Linked DNA regions of Homo sapiens: region 2 is linked to region 1. The links are contacts of gene promoters, found by promoter capture Hi-C in blood cells and fetal thymus (Javierre and others, 2016). All regions are on one chromosome and are shown on one strand. Each heading gives the region's core, a stretch centred on a gene start or on the middle of the fragment in contact. The rest is flanking DNA. Distances are from core to core; before and after follow the strand shown. Region 1 holds the start of MCPH1 (microcephalin 1). Region 2 overlaps MCPH1 (microcephalin 1).

Evidence for each region. The method cuts DNA at HindIII sites, captures the fragments that hold promoters and counts their contacts. A CHiCAGO score of 5 or more calls a contact.
Region 2: a fragment that was not itself captured here is called in contact with the fragment with the promoter of MCPH1 in region 1 in 7 of 17 cell types (total B cells, fetal thymus, non-activated CD4 T cells and 4 more); the score reaches 8.2 in total B cells.

The regions. Positions count from the first base shown.
Region 1 is chr8:6,402,312-6,407,876 of GRCh38, reverse strand. It overlaps MCPH1 (microcephalin 1), which reads right to left and starts at 1,250. Exons shown (of 14, transcript NM_024596.5): 1 at 1,188-1,250. The coding sequence starts at 1,209. It overlaps MCPH1-DT (MCPH1 divergent transcript), which reads left to right and starts at 1,329. Exons shown (of 2, transcript NR_040040.1): 1 at 1,329-2,171; 2 at 2,757-4,321. RefSeq lists silencers at 989-1,168, 1,429-1,508. The HindIII fragment of the contact is 9,682 bases long and covers 1-4,192 here.
Region 2 is chr8:6,596,402-6,601,966 of GRCh38, reverse strand. The region is part of intron 12 of MCPH1 (microcephalin 1); the gene reads right to left. Among named protein-coding and RNA genes, the nearest start is that of MIR8055, 23 kb to the left of the region's middle. RefSeq lists an enhancer at 2,181-3,380. The HindIII fragment of the contact is 961 bases long and covers 2,711-3,671 here.

The DNA.
Region 1 (5,565 bases), core at 1-2,500:
CTTAAAAATGTAAAAGACATTCTTAGCTCGTAGACCCTTACAAAAACAGGCAGCAGGCTAGATATGGCCTGGGGGGCATAGTGAGTGGACCCCTGTTCTAGTGGATATCCTCTTCTCAAAACCTGATGTTTAAAAGCATTTTCCAGGTGTGCCGTTGGTCAATGATTGGGGGTAACGCTAAAAGAAAACCAGGTTAATTTAACAAAATACTAACATTAGAAAAATAGCCACATCTGATTACAGACTTTGTATAAAGCCTCTAGTCTTTACTTTTGGCTATGAGGTTTTATGACTCCAGGCCCCACAATACAGGCCCCTTTTTTCTCACGGTCAAACTCTACAAGACACGTGTCCGCTATTCCCCTCTCCTGGGCTCTTCCAGGTGCACAGAGGGTGGGACTGCGTGCGGTATCATATACTGGTTAGGACAGCAGCTCCGGTCTAAGGCCCTGTCAGCACTGACTAGCCACACACAGGGAGAGTCACCTAAACGTCCGATGCCTTAGTTTCTGCCTGTAAAATGATATAAGAGAGTTGATAGAGCGGTTAAAAAAATCAGACAATACCATACTAGCCTAAGCACAGCGCCTGGCACACAAAGACTCCGCAGTAAAAGGCGGCTCCTATTATTGGAACAATTAGCATAGAAACTCAACTGCCGCTCCTCCAGGTGGGCCTCAGAGGGGGTCGAACAGGACCAGACCCAGGAGGGCCCCACACCAACTTCCGGAGGGCAGGACTCTGCCTGCCAGTGAGCCCCAGATCCAGGGACTAAGGCAGCAGGGGTGAAAGCAGGTAGGGGGAAAGGCGGGATTTGGGGGACAGGCAGCATGGGGGAGGGAGCAGGCAGCGGGGGATTGAGGGGAACTAGCAGCACGGGGGTTGGGGCACAAGCAGTACGGGGGAGGAAGCAGGCAGTCGGGGGTTTGGGGGGACAGGGAGCACGGGAGACGAAGCAGGCAGCCGGGGGTTTTGGGGGGACAGGCAGCGGGGGAGAGAGCAGGAGCAGGGGGTTTTGGTGGGACAGGCAGCGGGGGAGGAAGGAGGCGGCAGGGGGTCTGGGGGAGACAGGCAGCGAGGGAGGGGCGAGCGGGGCTCCTCCCACGGGATCCCCCGAGTGCGCCCGCGACGAGGGGTGCCGGTCCTCAAACTCCCGCTGCTGGAGCAGGCAGCAGGAAGTACCTCACCTTTCAGGATGGGGGCCGCCATGACAGACGGCGGGATCCGGCCAGCTGGCCTACGCGGTGCTTGCGAGCCTGGCGGCGCGCGCGGGCACTGGGCATGCGCGGGGTGAGCGCGCCGCCGTCACCGCGCTCCGCTGAATCCGCGTTTCCGGGATTTCTCTGTAGGTGAGGCGGGAGGCTGGAGGGAGCTGAGCCCCCGGGGAGGGGGCCCGATTCCGCCTCGCCGCGCCTCTGGCTGCTGGGCCGTGGGTTTTTCTCTTCTCCTGGGAGTAAGGAGGACGACGGCCCCTAACCCCTGAATTAGCCTTCTATTTCCATTAGTGACTTAGAAGCTACCCGGCGCCTCATCTGGGCTCACCTGAGCTGAGGATCAGGAAGGGGAGGGGGCACAGTCATTCCCTCGCGGACGCGGCGGGACCCCAGCGGACGGCTTTGTGCGGACTTTCGGCACCGTTATGCCCCCCTAGCCCGACACCACCTGGGGCTGGCGCGCCACGTTACTGTTCAGGGCCAGACGCACCGCCCTGCCTGCTCCGGGGAGCCGGACCTCCGATCCCGGGGATGGGGGACCCCGAGACCTCAGACCCAACGGAGGGGACTCTGATACCTCAGACCCCACGCGGGGACCCCGAGGCTTCAGACCCCCACAGGGTGACCCCGAGATCTCAGACCCCCGCAGGAGTACCTCCAGACCTCAAATCCCCAGTAAGGGAATGAAAGAGACTTCGGATCCCTGAGGCAGCAAATCCCTGTAGGGGCATCCCAGGACTCAGGTCACCGCGGGGTGAACCCAGACCTCACATTCAGGCAATCCCCAGGACGCCGATCGGCTGGCACTACCCACTGTCCCGGCCACCCCCCCTGGAGCTCAAAGGCTTGGCCCTCCAGCTGCTCCACCCTGCCGGCAACCAGGCTCAAACCTGCAGCCCGCGGATCCCCTGCCCCGGAAGCAACCAGATTCGCGGGAGGTTACCTGACTGATCCAAGGTGATACAGCTGGTAACTGATGGAGATGTTGGTAGTGAAATTCATGTACTTTTAGTTCTTTCTATGGAATCTAGAGGTAGAATACATGTAAAAGAATATCGACTACCGTCTACTCAGGTCTCTGTTTTATCTGTTTATTCATTCACTCTCAGCTTTTAATAGGATCCAATGAGCCCTCTGTGGTTCTGAAGAATTGCCTTGAGTATATGCAGCCTCAAAAAACCCACTTCCTAGGCTCAGTCTTTGATCAATATTTATCATTATCACCAGTTATTGTTCTAATAAACTCTACTCTGGAAATATGGTGTTATGGTTTACTTGGGAGTGTGAGTTCAGGGCATCATTGAAGACTCACGTACTTTTACTGAGAAAGTGACATTGATCTCTGTAGATTTTGAATTAAATGATATGATGAAGTATATAAACCAATTACTTTTGGTCAAGGTGGTAAAAAAAGTTTAGTATTTGATAGATTCTTCATCTCCACGATCACAAATATTTTCTCCTAGGATTTCTTCTAGAAATATTACTGCTTTAGGTTGTATATCAGGTCTAGGTTCTACTTTTTTTTTTTTTTTTCTCCAGGCAGTTTCTCACTCCGTTGCCCAGGCTGGAATGCAGTGGTGTAATCACAGCTCACTGCAGCCTCAACCTACTGGACTCAAAGGATAAGATCTGCTTTTAATTAATTTTTGTATACGGTATGGGATAGGGACCAAAGTTCATTTTTTTGCATGTATACATATCCAAATGTTCCAGCATCATTTATTAAAAAGTTATTTTTGTCTCTACTGCATTTCCTTTGTGCTTACATCAAAATCTGTGTTGCATATGTATGTGTTTCATTTTAGGCTTCCTATTGTGTTCCATTGAGCTATTTGTCTTTTTGCTGCCAGCACCATGCTGTTTTGATTATTGTAGCTATATAAATAAGTGATGAAATCAGATAGTTTATGTCCTACAACTTTATTTTTCAAGGTTATTTTGTATCTTCTAGATTCTTCAGATTTCCTTTTAAATCTTAGAGTCGACTTCTCATTTTGCACAAAAAAATACTGCTGGGATTTTGATTGAGATTGTGTTGACTCTACAGATGAATTTGGGGAGAATTGACATTTTAACCATATTGAATCTTCTGACCCATTAACATTTAGGTCTTTTAAAATTTCTCTGGCCAGACGCAGTGGCTCACGCCTGCCACTTTGGGAGGCCAAGGCGGGCCGATCACAAGGTCAGGAGATTGAGACCATCCTGGCTAACACAGTGAAACCCCATCTCTACTAAAAATACAAAAAATTAGCCGGGCGTGGTGGCATGCGCCTGTAGCCCCAGCTACTTGGAAGGCTGAGGCAGGAGAATGGCATGAACCCGGGAGACAGAGCTTGCAGTGAGCAGAGATCTTGCCACTGCACTCCACCTGGGGCAACAGAGCGAGACTCCATCTCAAAAAAAAAAAATATAACTGTTGTTAGATTTTAACCTAAGTATTTGTTTTTTTATTTTGTTTTTCTTTTTTTCTTCTTTTTTTTTTTTTTTTTTTTTTGAGACAGGATCTCACTCTGTCTCCCAGGCTGAAGTGCAATGGTGTGATCATGGCTCATCTTGAAGCCTCGACCCTCCTGGGATCAAGCTATCCTCCCACCTCAACCTCCTGAGTAGCTGGGACTACAAGTACACATGACCATGCCCAATTCATTTTTTAAATTCTTTGTAGAGGCGGAGTCCCACTATGTTGCCCAGGCTGGTCTTGAACTCCTGGGCTCAAGCAATCCTCCCACCTCAGCTTCCCAAAGTGTAGGGATTACAGGCATGAGCCACTGTGCAAGGTCTTGTGTTTTTTGATAATATCGTAAATGGTGATTTTTTCATTTGTTTCTGATTGTTGCTAATATATGGAAATATAGTTGATATCTGCAATTGATCTCATGTCCTGAAAACTTGCTAAATCTGCTTAATAATTTTTTGTACATTCAAAATGATGTTCTACAGGTAGTCGTATTGTCTATGTTGGAAGGAAAGCTTTTCCTCATTCAATGTCGGTCCTGTGTTTGAAGACCTGCAAATTAACTGATAACAACAGGTTAACAGGAGAAAAGACAAGGTTTAGAGTAACTCACTAAATAGAAATAAAGGTTTATAGATCCACTTAACAAAATGTGTTGGGAGATTTTGGAGTTTCAGTAGGAAGTTGTGGAAGGTTCTTTTGGGCTTTTGGATGCTTATGAGAATGGGCAATCTGTCTCTACAGTAGTGGAATTTACAGGAAACTTCCTCAGAGGGAGGCCAATGGCAGCTGTATTTTCTGGGGGCTCTGCTTTAGTGAAATAAGGGAAGTTCAAATAAAATTTCTTGATGCGTCTTTCTTAGATCAAATATTTTCACAGTAAAATAATCTTTATACCAACTTTTAGGGCCTGAATGGTCCACACATTTCTCCATCTGAAACTTCCCTAGAAATTTCATTAACAAAAAAAAGAAGCTAAGTTGATTGCTGTGGGGAGATGATTTGAGTTAGAAATTGTAAGATGAGAGATCTGTAAAAGGGGGAAAAACATAGATTAGAACAAGGAAACAAAAACAATGATTAATGTTCAGAGCAGACGATAAACCCAGTCTAGAGGGTAAGCCAGTTATGAAATTTTCTAGATGTTGGGCTCCAGCTATCTTTAGTGAGGATGGTAGTGGTAGGTAGTGTTGCCATCATGGTTATTTCCTAGAGCACAGTCTGGAAGATGCAGGTGTTCTGGGGAAATATTTGAAAGACCCACGTGTTGTGATAAGTCTTTTGAAGTTTCTGTCTAGCCATCCAGCTTCAGCTTGCAAGGCTTTGAGAAGGAATCAGTTTTAGTTCTCAGTGACGTCAAGTCAGTAGAGTGGGAGGAAAATTGGAAATACTGATTACTGACAAAATATGTAAGATGGCAGGATCCAGGTTTTGTTTTGTTTTTTGTTTTGTTTGTTTGTTTTTGAGACTGAGTATCACTCTTGTTGCCCAGGCTGGAATGCAGTGGTGCAATCTCGGCTCACTGCAACCTCCACCTCCCAGATTCAAGCGATTCTCCTGCCTCAGCCTCCCAAGTAGCTGGGATTGTGGGCTAATTTTGTATTTGTAGTAGAGATGGGGTTTCTCCATGTTGGTCATGGCTGGTCTCGAACTCCCGACCTCAGGTGATTCCCCGGCCTCGGCCTCCCAGAGTGCTGGGATTACGGGCGTGAGCCACCGTGCCTGACCGGCAGGATCCAGCTTTTAAAGAGGTAAAAAAATTGCTCAAAGACAATGAACAAGACTAGAGTCTGATAACTCACACAACTGGGTTATAGTTTGCCATTGAAACATAAAATTTCTCTGTATAATTACTACCACTGAGATCAAAGATAAACAAAGTAAGATTAC
Region 2 (5,565 bases), core at 1,942-4,441, 190 kb before region 1:
TACTATGGTACACTGATTACCCTTTTTATATGATAGTATTTATACTGGTGATATAAAAACATTACTATGAAACCATAAAAGAGGGTGACACTAATTTCTCTAGAAGCTCTGGGGAATGCTTTCCAGAAAAGCTTCTCCTTTAGATAATTAGGAAAGGCTTGTGTGTGTGTGGTGTGGGTATATGTGGTACGTGATTGGGTGTGTGTGTGTGTGTGGTGTGGGTATATGTGGTATGTGATTGGGTGTGTGTGTGTGGTGTGTGTTGTGTGTGGTATGCACTGTGTGTAGTGGCATGTGTATTTAATGTCTGTGTTGTGTGTATGTGTATGTATGGTGTGCATGTGGGTGGGTGGTGTGTATGGTGTGTGTATTTCTGGTGGGCATGTATGATGTGCATGTGGGGTGTGGGTGTGCGTAGGGGTGTGTGTGTGTGTGTGTGTGTGTCCCATATGATGGAGGACAGGTAGGGGGTGTCATGGCGGGAGGGAGATCGCCACAGACGTCCGGCTCCCTGCAGGAGGTGAGCAGTCCCGTACGGGCAGCCGGTATTAGGGCAGGAAGAGCCAGGAGGCAACCAGGTGGCTGGACGGAAGAGGAGGAGGGCAGTTTAAGGAGAGGTCTTGAAGGCTTTGCTCAAGAGTCTGAACTAGAACCTTCAGAGAAGGGAAATGACTAGAAACTGGGAAGCACAGGGTGCCCTGATGAGAACTGTTTTCCAGAGATGCACCTGCAAAGACAGCTGAGAGCTGTGAGGGTGGAAGCTGCAGGAATAATCCTCTGGAAAGTGCAGCTGCCCAGGTGGGCACAGCTGGGAGGTCTATGGACTCTGTCTCCAGGTGGTGGCTGCAGGGAGGCCTAGGGACAGGTCTCTCATCTCCAGGTGCTGGCTGCAGGGCCACAAAGCCAGCCCCCAGCCCACAGGGAGCCTCAGCTCTCCTTCCTGGGGGCTCCAGTCCCTATTTCCTCCCTTGGTGACCCCGTAATGGCCCTTGTCATCTGCCTCTGCACTGCTGTGTTTAGCGATTCTGAACGGTGCATGGAAGTGTGTTAAGTACCATGCTCCCGTCTCCTGGGTGAGATGTCTGTCCAGTAGTTCTAGGCAATGTCTCCTCAATGCACTCACCCTTGATGGGAGCCCATAGCTGTAAAGGAACTGAAGGCCTCCAACCTGCCCCCAACGATGGCCTGTGTGCCTCCTGCGTTGCTCAGCTATTGAAACATTGCCACAACCCTCACAGAGGTCCAATCCTTTCGTTTCATAGTAGAATCGTTTTGTTCAGTGTTATTTAGTCAATAAACTAAAAACTTAAGAAATCTTTCAATACAAAGCTGTAAGGTTTTTCTCTTGTCACATGTATTGTAAAGTCCCTGCCCCACCTAGGAAGATGTGATGTCACAAGCCTAACGTGCCTCAGTCAGAGGTATGCTAGAGACACTCAGACTCTGCTGTAAGCTGGAGATGTGCCGCCAAGGGTGGCCAGTGCCGCCCCAATCCCCAGTGGTGGCAATGGTAAATGTATCTGAAGGAGCAGGCTCTTAAATGTCAAAGATGGACACTGTCACTCCCACAGGAATACCAGTTACACCTCCACCTGTGCGCTGAGGGCTACAGGTGGCCAGGCCAGCACCCACGGCCAGCTAGAGAAGGTCTGGCATCCCTGCTGGGGACCCTCTCTCCCTTGCACTCCCCTGGGGGTCCCTGACTAAGCACTATTAGAAGTAGCACACTAGTGAGTCTTAAAAATACCGCACTCTTGCCAGGATGAGTAGGTTTTGCAGATTTGACAGCAATGTCCTGGCCTAATCCTTTGGAAAAGGACAAGAAATTCCAACCTGAAGATTTCTGTGTCTCCAGCAACTCAGCTCCAGATATTTCTGTAACTTTTATTTAGCATGAAGCGAACTATTAACCAGCTCCTGTGGGGAAAAGGTTACTTTATTGACCGCTTCCTAGCAAATAGAACATAGAGAAAGAAAACCACAGTACTTTTCCTCTTTGTTAATCTCTAATACAATTCCCCAGAGTAATGGTTACTTTTGAATTAGTAATTGCATTGAAGCAAGTTATTGTTTTTCTTTGGTTTCCCTCATCTTGTACATAATTACAAAAATTGGTATATGGGAGCAAGGAGAGAATTCCCGCTTGCTTTATTTAATCTTGATAGCTGATTTTTAAAAATACACATAATCTCTAATTGAATCTCTCTGTAACTTCCTACCCTCACTACTTTCAAAAAAACAAAATGAAGATAAAAAGTAAATCAAGGGGAAAACTACCAGGAGACTATTTCCAACAACAGATGACTCAACAAGCACCTGAGAATTTGTTGTACTTGTGTGTACTAAGCTTCTGAACTTCCTGTTTCAATAAAATGCCAAACAAGTTGTGTTTCCTTTACAAATAAGCTATTACATCAAGCCCTGTTCCTATAATTTCAGGTTTTTGTCTCCATTCCAACATTTTCTTTGGCAAATGTAGAAACATTCTAATTAAAGTGGAGAGGAAAACAAGCATCATTCATCACGGTGAGAATAATGGACAAAGAACATCCTCGGTTTTTTCATTCTTTCACTAAGCCGCGCTCTGCTTTAAACAGTTGGGGCCTGGCGTCATGCAGTCCCTGACTAACTCCGAGGTAATGGCTTCAAGTAAGCCTGAGTCACTTGGAAAAAAAAATTCCAAAGGTATCGATAATTCCTGTCACAAGCTTCACATTCCTTTAAAAATATCCTTCCGGTCCGCGGAGGAAGGCATTCCTTTTAGGTAATCACGTAACAACATCAAGGCTTCTTTTTAAGATACTGAGATTAGGAAGAGGACTTCCTACTCATGACCGTGGAAGCCTGAGTTGGAGGGAACATTCCCACTTCCCAGGCGCGCCTCGGATTTTCACTTTTATCAGGACTTTTAAGAGCCCCGTATTCGCGCTAGGAAGTAGCATCTCAATAGGTTTCACGCTTTTTAAAATACATGCCTTAAGGAATCAGAACTAATTAGGGTCTTTTCACCACCCAGCTCAGCGGGGCTGCATGTGCGTGTGTGCACACATGTGTTTTCACGCTGAGCTGAGATGAGAGCAATGCATTTTGGAAAGTTACATTCTGCAATGCATCGGGCGGGAAGCCGCAGCTCCAGCCTGGCCACCCTCGGCAGCCATCCGCTCTCTGAAGTGTTAGGGCGCCTTTCGGGTGGCAGGGGGCTCTTCTTAGTCCCACCACGCAGGGGGGAGCCGCACTGCGCTTCCTCACCCACACAGGGCCATGGCCTTCTCACGCCTGTCGTGAAGCCGCCCGCCGGCTCACACGAGAGGTTTTGCTTCAGCAAACATTGGGGTCGCTTGGGGGAAATGGTGTTTACCTTTTGGAAAGCCTTGGGTGTTCGGGAAGAAAGCCTGCTTTGCCCCGAGGAGAGCTGTTCTGGTGTGTGCCTCTCCCAGCCCACTCCTTCCTCTGCGGAGCTGGTGGGCCGGGTGGAGCCTGGACAACGACATTCCTCACGACCGCCCCCCACCCCATCCCCTTCTTCTCCCCTCATGTCTGAGGCTCAGAGCTGCACTCTGGCCGGTCGCCGGCTCTGTCTTTGGGTTCGGGGCTTCTGCTTTGCCTCCTACTTTCCAATCCCTCCCCTCCCTGCATGAGTTCTGTTCCTGACTGTGAGACTCTGAAAAGCTTGGCATGTGCTGCATCCTAAACTTGCTCTACAGACCCTCTTCCCCACCCTGGCTCCCCAAGGCTGGTGTGGGAACCCACGTATTTCCCAGGTACACGGAGTCTCTGGTGCTCACTCTGATTGACCGCCTTTGCCTCCCAGAAGCATCCCCTTTCCTCCTTCCTGCCTCAGAGCTAATTTCTGTGTCCAGGAGCATCCTCACCCTGTTGAGCGGAGGCACAAGTATAACTAAATACGTGAAGGCCCGCTGAGCTGATGTTGGCTGGAAAAGGACATCGTCATCTGGAAATGTGGCTGTTTATTCAGCAGACATGAGTGGCACGTCCTCAGTGCAAGGCTCTAGGTCAAGTGCTGGGGGCAGAAAGACCAACAAGCAGGGTTCTGCCCTTCCCTTTGGAGAGCTCACGTTTCTTCTAAGGAGATGGGTAAGTGAAGGGCAGGCCCACCTAGGATGTGCTTATGAGGGAGAGGACCAAGGTGATGTGGGTCACGGAAGGACAGTAGACCATATTCAGAAAGGAGTGGGTTCAGGAGGGGCGCAGTGAGGTGTGAGGATGAGAAAAGCAGGACTCTGTTGAAGGAAATGTTCCCAGAGACGAAGAAATTAGCAAAGAGAGGGAAACTCCTCTTCATTCCCTCTCCCTTCCTAGCGCTGAGCCCTCCCTCCGTGTTCCGGGTTGTCGTGTCCACAGCAGCACCAGCCCCCAGAGAAAACCCAGCAGAACTCTTGGCCGAGCTGGTGAATGTTCTGGGCTGGGAGAGGGCTCCGGGTTCCTGGGGCTGTTTGTTGTCTTTTATTTTTGCACAGTCTTCGGTATTTCCAATGGCACTTGGCACAAGTACATAAAATTCATCTTACAAGACATATTTGCCACTTGTAGCCAAAATCTGGAGTCTACCTTCTAGTCCTGGCTTTAAGGAATCTCTTCCTAGAAGTCTAATGTCTTCCTGAAGCCGAAAAAATAAGACAATGGTGGGAAACGCTGGGGCTTGCCTGTGTCCTGCTTTCACCATTGGCTCCGGGTCGACAGTGATGATGGTAAAGACGGCGTCCATGGTGCCTTGTGAGCAGCCAGACCCCACACAGGACTGAGGCTCATCCATTTGCTCCTCTAATTCTCACTGCAGGCTTATAGGCAGGTGATTTTATTACCTTCATTGAGGCTTAGATAAGGTACAAGAAGTGCTGAGATCACACACCAGGCAGAGGGCTGTGAGTCCAGCCTGCTTGGATGCTAAGCCCATCTCCTGCCCACCTGGCCCCATTGCATCCTTCCTACCCTCTAAATGTGGTCTACGGGATGGTTTTAGATTCTCCGCTGATTTAATTTACATGAAGAAGCAACTGGTTGCTAACTCTGACCGTATCCTCTATACAAGAGTTTTCTCATTCATTCTTACTGTGTGTCCTTCTGTATTTTCTCAGCTGGTTCTTAGCTATTTCATGGTCAATAATGATTATTCTCCGCTGCATGTGTCTTAGCATTTTAGGAGGCTATCAATTTCAGCAGAAAAGAGATTTATTCTCGCGTTGATCTGGCTGGGGTTTTCAGTTCTACCGTTTTTTGGCATCGTTGCATTGTGGGATCTGTGCTGGTCTCCGGCAATACAAAGCCCAATGCCGTAATACTGTCTCCTGGGCCCCTGTTAGCCCAGGGGTTCCTCTGTGCACCCCTCATCATGCCCTCATACTCACGAGCTCCTGCACCTCCACGCTGGCTCCAGAGTCTGGCTTCCTTACTGCCCAGCCCATTGTGCTGGGTCATCTCCTACGGCTCTGGCGGCCAGGTCCCCTTGGCTGCCATGTGTACAGGCTTATAAGATACCTACGTTAGACACAATGGAGCCAACTATCCTGACAGATGGGGCTACTTCCCTTAGCAGAAAAATTCCTT